Linked DNA regions of Homo sapiens: region 2 is linked to region 1. The links are contacts of gene promoters, found by promoter capture Hi-C in blood cells and fetal thymus (Javierre and others, 2016). All regions are on one chromosome and are shown on one strand. Each heading gives the region's core, a stretch centred on a gene start or on the middle of the fragment in contact. The rest is flanking DNA. Distances are from core to core; before and after follow the strand shown.

Region 1 (5,100 bases), core at 1,841-4,340:
ATGTTTGTTATAGGGAGAATTTAAATCCAGACATACAATGAAGAGTACAGTTTAGTAATTCCTAAATACATTGTAGAACGGTAAATGTCTAGAAGATTACGAACTGCAATCCCTGCATTTAAAAACAAGGAAACACAGGTAAGCAAGGTGAACTAATCCACTTGCTAAAGATAAAATATTTAATAAGTCACTGTTTCAGGATTAGATCTCAATGCTCCTGCTTACCAGTCCATTGCTATCCCCTCTATACTACATTTCTTTTGCAGGTTGTCATGAACTTTTATTTCTAATTTAGGAACACCTTTTTATTTCCCCCAATATAATAAAAAAGGCAAAGAGCTCACTTTGTTTTCATTTAACTTGAGACCAATATACCTTTCATCATACCCAATGTAAAAGGCATGGAAGCAAGTTCCTTTAAAAACATTTACAGGCAAGTAAATATGTGTGGCAATTAATTAAAATTGCAACATGCTGATTGATAGAATTATAATTTCTTTGCCTGTCATATCAACACCTTTAACTTCTTTTAACTAAAAGAAATTTTTTTTTTCAAAAAGGAAATGCCTCTCAAGGAACTTTTCAATCTTGATGAGAAGTTATTACTATGGGAAAAGGATACCATGTTTATAATGAAAGTTCATATGTTCTTCAACTCAGGGTTAAAGAAAAGAAAAAGTTACCTTTGATGTATGCATATTGGTCAAGAAATCTGCTTCTAATGCTTTCATTTCCTCTTCTGAATCTGAGTAAAATCAAAATCAGGTTTACTATAATTACATATCATATAATTATATCATAATCTACAGATTTTAGGTTAATCTAAAAAAAAATCTTAGAGGTTAGTGTCTTTCTTATGTATTTTCTTAAAAATAGTAATCCTAAAAAACAAATTATAGTTATACTTTAGCATAATAGGAAGCTAAAATAGTAGAAGCACTTCTAAGAAAATAAGCATATGATTATTTTTCAGACAGCTATTGATCACTGGGAGTTGTTTAATCTTTGAATTTCAGGCTTTAAAAATGTGATTACATTGTATAACACATATTTTACCAAATATGCTAGAGTAGCTTATTTCTTACCAGCCACAGTTTACATATATAGAAAATATGCATATTAACATTTAAAAACACAACATAATGAAGACTATACAAGAGACTTTTTCAAGACAAAACCAAAGGGAATTGCTTACTGATAATTTTAGAATAATAAAGATACTGAGGTTTACTTAACTTGAGATGTTTTTTACAAAACACACGTTGAAAGAATTGTATTGTACTTTAAGAGAATTCAAAATTATGTATCCTCAATTTTTTCATAGGCATTTAAGGAAATTGTTTAAAGCAAAAGTGGAGCTGTTCAACAACACATGTACAACAGCATTGAAAATGGATCTCTGGATTTTTAAAAAACTCTATCCAAGTTTCTGTTAATGAATATTTTACAGAGAAGGAAAATTTGGAAAATACTATACAATAATAAAAATAAAGTTAAAAATGACTCTATCTTCCTTGTACTACACACTCAGTAAAAAGAAATGCCACAATTGGAGAACCCATTGGCTTAATTTTACCTAGAACCTAAATTATACAAGAGATCTTTTCTCACTATTTGTTAGAGACATAATCTGTTTTAGGAATTTATGAACAATGTATACCAAAATCCTTATAACTATTGCATTATTACAACAAGTAGTTTCAAGTTAATAAACACAGTGCTTAATCAATAACCCAGTTTTTCTTCCAGAAGTATGTGAATCTTTAATCTCATATAACTTTCAGATAAAATCATAATTATAGAAAAGTTTGTTTTTTCTCATAAGATTTAAAAAGTAGAAGCTGAAAGTTATGTTCTGATGATTAAAATAAATTTAAAATTTTGTATAAATCACATTTATATCTTCTTAGATTTTAATTTCATAATTTAAATCAAATGATAGCATGAGTTTGAGTTAAACATTTCCATGTCATATTTATGATACATAAAAGCACAGAACAGGTTAAATTATTTTTGCTGCATTTGCTTCCTAATGTGTTCTTTTCCCTTTGAAGTGTTCATTGTAATATTTCTTAAATATTAAGTAGAGCCTTTTGCAATGGTTGTAATATTTCATGTTATACCTTTCAATTTAAGTCTTATTTTCAAAGTGAGTTATTCGTAGATACTTAGGACTATATAACTTCTTTCAAACCACATGCAAAACACTCTAAAGTCAAATAATTTCCATCAATATAAGAATACCAATTTTCCAATTGTATTTTGTATTAACTTAAATGGCATGGAAAAAATGCCAAACAGTTATATTAATAGCACACTTATTAGACTATGCAAATTCTGTTCTCAAAAAGGATCTGGAATATTTTTGTATTTTTCTAGAAATAATTTTCTACAAATAATGCTTCATTTTTCACTAAGTATCAATTTTCACTTTATTTGTTATCTTAACACAAACAAGAAAATAATACGGGGACTATTACAAGGGCGTGAGGGCCACCGCTTCCTAAGAGAATGAATGAGGATGAGAGTAAAACATTTTGAATGGAATGGGATTTAATGATGGGTTTGCAGGTTGACAGCCACTGCCTCTGTATTTCTCATTAGATAATGATCAGCCTAATTGAAAGTTTTGTAGGGTTTTTTTCCCTCTAGTTGTTGAATTCCAAAGGAGGTCGTGCAGTGTTTCATTGAAATCCCTTTTATTGCTTTGCAGATTTTAAAAGAGAAAATACATCTCTCAGTAATCATAAAGGCAGAGAAAGAGATACTCAGTTTCTGTCACTAAAAGGTAAATCCTGAATAAAAGGGAGCAACTCTTCTCCCCAGATACATTAACATAAGTAGCAACACACTGCAAAAGAGAAAAAAGAAATCACTTCAGGGAGTTGTGAAATTCTGTTTTGCTTACCTGAGCACAGACTCCAGGAGCTGAAAGCCAGGAGTAGCATGCATACAAGCTGGATTTTCATTCCTGCCATCATCTTTCAGCCTTCTAACAAGCCAAGTCCGTAAAAGTCAGAAGCACACTGAAGGGGGCTCTCTCTAGCACTTCCTCTTTCCTTCAGCTGGCTTTGAAAGTGAGTGAACTATGAGAGGTGCTCTGGCCATTCCCCTATATATATAAGCAGGAGGATGATGTCATTGATTGTACAGACATTATCTTTGCAGGATGTGCCCTATCTTCACCTCCATCCCTCCCCTCTTTGCCCTGCTTTCTCCTCCCCTTTTCCTTTGTCCCCCCTGCTCTCCTCCCCCATTTCTGAACCTTGAGTGAAAGTGACGATCTTCCCTAATTGCTGCTGCTGCTGCTTTGGATTTCTGACGCACAGAAGGAGTCATTCAACTGCACTGACATACAGCATACATACAGCATACTGACAAAGAACCCCCAGTATCATCCTTTTCCCACTTCTCATTCCCCCACTCCAAAAGTTGTCATTTTGATTTTGTGAAACATGAGATCTGTTATTTCTAATTTTTAAGGAAAATCTCCAGGATGAATGCATGAAATCAGTGATTCCTTAGGCTTGGAAGTTCTTGAAGAGTTAGGGTGCTTCTCTGGTAATTCAAACTTCTGAGCAAATGTTTAGTGGTTCCAAAACTAATACAGGTTTTAAATAATCCATGCTGGAATAAGATGGAATAGAGACAGAGAATCAGTTATAAAAATTAAGCAATTAAGTTTAGAGAATAGAAAGAAAATCAATAAAAAGAAATAATAGATCCAGGGAATAAGATATTATTTCCTAACAAATAGAAAATATTTTATTGTAAGTAATGAGAGATGACTGAACTATGTGTGCTGACTTTTGGTTGAATGTATTAGAAAAACAATTTCATGTTTATAAAATCCAGCTCTAAATTACTTACATTCTAGCAGGTAAAAATTTGTGTTGTTGTATCACTGACTTTTTTTCTGTACATTATCTCTTTTTATGCCTATATTTTTCTGCTCTTTTTGAATTCATTCTTGATGCCATGTCTCACTCTTTGTATAATTCCCTTCTCAACAGTTTTTACTATTGCATCGGCTTTCTTTCCCTGTTATAATACTCTTTTCACCATAAAAAAAGAGATTGTACTTTTGGAAAGGAGACAATCCTAAATAACCACCATTCACCAAAGTCACTTTTCTATGATAGTCTTCATGTATTTCATGAGTTACACTGATACCCATTCTTTGTCTGAGTTCTCAAAAGAAAATTGTTCAAAATGCCTTTTAGAGTAAAACTTTCTTCTTGTAGTAAGCATTTCAAGATACATGGGGTAATTTGACAAGTCAGTGCTGTTAGAGATGTGAATATTTGAATGTAAAGTTGTCTGAGTCTTGTTTAATTTTTAAATAAATCAATCATGTAGTAACAGTTGAGAAAAAATAGGATTGGTTCCTATAGATAATTGATTTATATTATACAATCTATGAGTTTAACTTTTTCACCTTTACCCAAAACTTAAGCAAAGCGATTAAATCCAAACATTTAATAATTACTTAGAATAGCAAGGAGTCTTTCATATAATACCAGAAATTTAATAATAACTGATATATTTATTACTTTTAGTTTGTTTTCTGAACTTACATAAAACACAATATTGAACATACTCACATGGAGGAAGGTTTCTGTAAAGTATTTAGTTGACAAATGTGAAATACATACGTCTAGATGTTTTCTGCTTTCCTACCATTAGGGGGAGCAATGGAAGCTTGAAACACTTGGTTTTCACTTAACAGAGTCTCAGTGAGGATTTGTGCTTACTTTCCTGTTACTATCAGAGCATCTTTGTGACAGAATCCTCTTAAAGCCACTTTGATTAACAAATCGGGAAAATTATATATACTTTGCATGATAATTAAATTAGTTGTTTTCTCTGCTTTTGAATTGCAAATACAAAGAATGATCTTTTAAAATGTGTGATAGCAGTCTAATAGTAAAAAGGAAATGTGATTCTTATTTTCCTCAGATGATTTCTTCAATATGTTGACAAAATTGATCCCTAATTAATTAGAAAAAAGGGGGAGAAGAATTAATGGAAATTCATTTTAAATATATAACATGGATATTAGTTGTTAATGTGAAAATTGAGATATGTGATAAATATTCA
Region 2 (5,082 bases), core at 2,451-4,950, 250 kb after region 1:
AAGGATAGCACTGGGAGAGATACCTAATGTAGATAACAGGTTGATGGGTGCAGCAAACCGCCATGGCAGGTGTATACCTATGTAACAAACCTGCACATTCTGCACATGTATCCCAGAACCTAAAGCATAATAAAAAAATTAAAAAATCTAAAATAAATATATTTATAATATTCTACCAAAAGTAACTTTCTATGCAAATAATATACACATATACATTATATGTGTAGCTGAGTGTATGTGTATATATAATTATACAGACATATATGCACAAATATTTATGTCTATACATACATATATTTTAAAATATATTTTATATATATCTATAGATAGATATATACATGGATATCTTCAACAAATATTTAAGCAGTGAATAAATGCTTGTCCTAACAAATGTTCATTTTTTTGCTCAACAAATTCATTTTTGTATGTTATATGCAAATATATATGTACACACACATATATGAGAAATCTCTGCCCTAGCAGGGCTTATGTTATAGTAGAGGAGATAGTCATTGAAAAATAAATATACTTTAATATTTCATGTAAGAAAGTAGTATTCACTATAAAAGACAAGAATAATAAAGGGGCAAGGTAAAAACAAGGATACCAGTTTTATAGCTATTTCAGATGTTAATTTGGACCAAGGAGAAAAGTTAGAATCCATATATATTTTTGGTGGTTGAGTCAGCAGGACTTCCTGGATGTGAAATATGAGAAAATGAGTGGGGTTGTGGATGATGTTAAGGTTTTGGCCCAGAACAACTATGTAAATTGATACTGTTACTACCAATTGAGATGTGGAGAGCTGTGCATGTAGCAAGTCTCAGAAGGAGGTGAATCAAGAGCATAAATTAGTTCAAAATAGATACGATCAAACATAAGCCCCTTTAGGCAAGTAAAATGATTCATAGATTTGAAACCGTAGAATGAATGTGAATAAGAGCTAACAGACTTTGTTCTAGTGGAATTGAAAATTAGTGGTGTTCTTCTTTGTTACCACAAAATAGTAATTTCATATATTATGTTAATTTACATAAATTATGATATTTGACAATCTCTACGTATTTTACTAAACAATTTCACACATGCAGTTAAGAAGTTATCCTTTTTATTGTATAAAATTCTGAGGAAAAACATTCCTCAAGAATTGACAAATAATTTTGTGCTGTTGGAAGATTCATTGTGCCTAACATTTATGCTCTTTCCAACTTCTGTTGGCTTACTAGATTTGTGTGGGCTATGAATCCTCCCCACTGGATAATAAAATGTAATTTATTTTTATTTTTATTGAGTAGAATTTATTATTTTATTCACCCAAATTGGAATTAAACTGACATTTACATGCCAATATAAAATGACTTGTGTAGGCCAGGTGTGATGGCTCACATCTGTAATCCCAGCACTTTGTGAGGCCAAGGTGGGAGGATTGCTTCAGCCCAGGATTTCAAGACCAGGCCTAGCATTATAGCAAAACTCTATCTCTACCAAAAAAAAAAATAAATAAATAAAAATTAGCCAGGCATGGTATCATGTGCCTGTAGTCCCAGCTACTCAGAAGACTGAGGTGGGAGGATTGCTTGAGCCTGGGAGGTCGAGGCTGCAGTAAGCCAAGTTCACACCATTGCCCCTCAGCCTGGGAAACAGAGTGAGACACTGTCTCAAAAAAACAAATAAATGAATAACTTGTGCAAACCAATTTCATACCTAGTATAAAGAATCTTCTTAAACTACTAAAGGGATCAAATGTTTCCCACAGACACTGCAGTACACAACTATATACAGGTGAAAAACTGTATCTCATTTTAAGCATGGCAAGGATACAAAAATAAACACCCCATGATTCCAACCCCCAACAATTAACAGTAGAGGAGATTAGGCAGTCTAGAGGAAACCCAAGGAAGACTGTACTAAGAGCTTAATTGGAAAAATAACTTTTCTTGGGGGTGAGAGGAAGTGACTAATTCTGACAAAGTGATTGCAACAGCAGAGGGTAGCCCAGATAAGGTTGGGATTAGTCATGATAATAACTTCACTTTATTAAAATTATATTTAGGATTAAATTTCTTCTAGGCATTCATTCTTGTTTGACTTTCTATATTACTTATAGAACCAATTTATTGAACTAGTTAGACTAGGTTAGGTACAGGCAGAATGCAGCTGTATTTTTTTTCACCTCTACTTTTTGAATTTTATCTGAAGATGTTTTTTCTTTTTCCTAATGAAGTTGGATAGATTCCACAGCTTTTAGAAAATTTTCAAATAGCAAAAAAACCAGGTCATTCTCTATAAAAATACACACCATTATCTAATGGAAAACTTCTCTCCTACTTCAGTTTACATCTGTCACATGCTATACTGGGGGAGAAAATGCAGGGTTGACAATATTTTTTCACTTGATATGCTTTTTATCTAATTCTCTGGCAGTTCTTACCTCATATTTTGCTCTGTATTTACATTTCTTACCTCATATTTCTGATCTCTGCAGTGTCAAGTACAGGAGAGCAGAGAAGTGGTACAGGGGCAAAAAGGCCAGATGTGACGGGTTCAGTTGTAACTTAGTATCAGGCCTTCATGTTGGATGCCGGTTTTTTTTCTTCCAGCATGCTTTGTGGTTTAATTGGTAAAAGGCAATGTTTATTATGGAGATGAAGCTTATATGAAGGGCTCGGAAGAGCTGGTAGAGTCAATTCCCAACGCTGTATTCAGTGGCTTTATCACGGTAGCTTGAAACCATACGTTGGAAATACTTATATCATGGAAATTAGAAAATGATACAAATTAGGGCTTTAAATATTTTTTGGAGGAATGGGTTAGATATCAATGTCTAATCACATTTTCTTGGGCATTTCTTATAGGAATAAGGATAAGTTATAGGTTAATGCTGAAGGGGCAGTTTTTTAACTACTCCATTATAAGTGTTTTTCACATTGTTTAGATCAATGCTGTCCAACAGAACTTTCTACAATGAAGGAAATATTCTATATTACACTGTTCAATATGAGAAACATTAGTCAAACATGACTATTGTGCACTTCAGATGTGACTAGTACAATTGGAGGACTTAATTTTTAATTTTACTTCATTTTAATGCTTTTACATTTGAACTTAAATGGATGCGTGTGACCAGTGACTACAGTATTACACGGTGCAGGTCTAGAGGACCTCTAAGTCTTCTTTAGGTGGCCTCTCAACCTTCTTTATCATGGTAGGAACTTGACACCTATTGTTTTGTCTAGCCTCTTGGGGCCTTGGCTGAAACTGAGAAAACAGAAAGTCACACTTAACTATATAGTTGGAAAGGAAAACTCAATGACATATATCAACTATGAAATTTATTAATCAGAAATTACTTTTATTCAGTTAGAATAAATTAGGTTTAAGAGTGTTGCAAATTGAAATTCATATATAAAGAATCATGTTAATATGATTCTAAGAATAAAAAGAAAATGCATTGAGTGAATTTTGTTTGGGCAGTCAACATAACGACAAAAGGTATAAGCCATGTCCTGCTCTCAAAGAACCTTAGATTCAGTATCTAAATTGAAACAGAACATAAAAGTTCTTATCTATGAAAATTCTACTCTACTATTGTAAATTTACATATTCTTTTGTGAGAGCATGGTAATTATACCTATGAAACTTGATATGCATTTCCATTTGGCAGTGGAGCATTATGAAAAGGATGAATTTGGGAGTTACGTAGGCTTTGGTTGGAATCCGTTTCTACCTACTGACTGTGTAATCACAGGCAAGTCATTAAACTCTCTGAATTTTGGTTTCCTCATCTGAAAAATGGACCCAATAAAAAGAACCTTTTAGAGTTGCGTTAAATAGATGATGCAGTGCTATATATAATGCCTGGAACATAATTAGCATTAAAGAGGTTTTAGAACACTTTATGAACTCTACACAGTTTGTTTGGTTTTTTTTTGGCTATAACTTTTCAAAAATTGTTTTTATTTTCTCACCTATTCTGTGAAATAAATATCAAAAATTTTGGCCTTTAAATACTATCAGCTTGCAGAAATCCAAGTAATTAAAATGAACAAAAAGCACAACTATAAGAAAGAATTTACATTCATCCATTTTTATAGGGTAGACTCATCCTTTATCATGAGTGAACTCTTACAGTTGTATTTTGGCTTGTTTTTTATTGCTAGCCTTTTTGTCACCCAATATCATCTTCTTAATGATATAGAAAAAGTGACTTTGTTAAAAACCGTTTTATCACTTTAAACAAGTCTACAATCTGAACTGCCCCCCATTAGTTATTATAACTAATAATCACTCTTTAGTTTTTCATCAAAATTTACTCAACTAACTTTCTCCCTTGTACCCTATAACCCTTCAAATACTTCTTGTGATTTAGCCAAGATTCTAAAGTTCAGTGATAGAAGGTCAACCCAACTCACTTAAGCTAAATTTATTGTCTCATACAAACAAATCACTGGAAAGACATCAGTAAGCTGGCATTATACAAGGTTGAATTGTGGCTTTCAAAATGCTATTGAAACTCTACTCTCATTGTTTTTTTCCTTTCTCCCACTTTGCCTCACATAGTGAAAGACATGGTGCTTAGCAGCTCTGGGCTCTTATTCTAACAGTTTCATGACTTTAGAAAAAAGGACCTTCTCTGTCACATGTCCAGTTTTATAAATATCAGGGTAAAGATCTGGTTTGTCTTCCTTGTATCATGCGCCTATCATCACTATAGCCACGGGAGAAAGATATTAGAATTGGCCAAGCTTGGGTCATTTGGAGTCAGGGTGGAAAGAAGAATGGTGTCTTTACTAGATGAAAGGAAAAGAGAAGAGAATGAAGTACCTGGTAAACTGTATTATAAACACTGTAGACACCCTATCAAATAAACTCTTTCCACCTTAATAAAGCTAGTTTTCCTAGGCTTAATAGCATGTGATCATTTAATCAACTGTAAATGTTTTTCTCTACTTTTATCAAGCAATTCAGATTCATCATTTTGAAAACCAAGCACAACACTGACTTTCAAAAAGTTTTTCTTTAATCATTCCTTTATTTGTGTTTATTCTGCACCAACTCTAACTATATTGAACTCTATTGAAG

What was found. Contacts are between HindIII fragments. The CHiCAGO score rates a contact against its expected background, and 5 or more counts as called.
Region 2: a fragment that was not itself captured here is called in contact with the fragment with the promoter of NTS in region 1 in 1 of 17 cell types (megakaryocytes); the score reaches 5.5 in megakaryocytes.

The regions. Positions count from the first base shown.
Region 1 is chr12:85,872,285-85,877,384 of GRCh38, reverse strand. It overlaps NTS (neurotensin), which reads right to left and starts at 3,090. Exons shown (of 4, transcript NM_006183.5): 1 at 2,909-3,090; 2 at 684-745. The coding sequence starts at 2,981. The HindIII fragment of the contact is 11,906 bases long and covers 1-4,703 here.
Region 2 is chr12:85,623,483-85,628,564 of GRCh38, reverse strand. No RefSeq gene overlaps it. Among named protein-coding and RNA genes, the nearest start is that of RASSF9, 210 kb to the left of the region's middle. RefSeq lists an enhancer at 1,608-2,807. The HindIII fragment of the contact is 2,094 bases long and covers 2,654-4,747 here.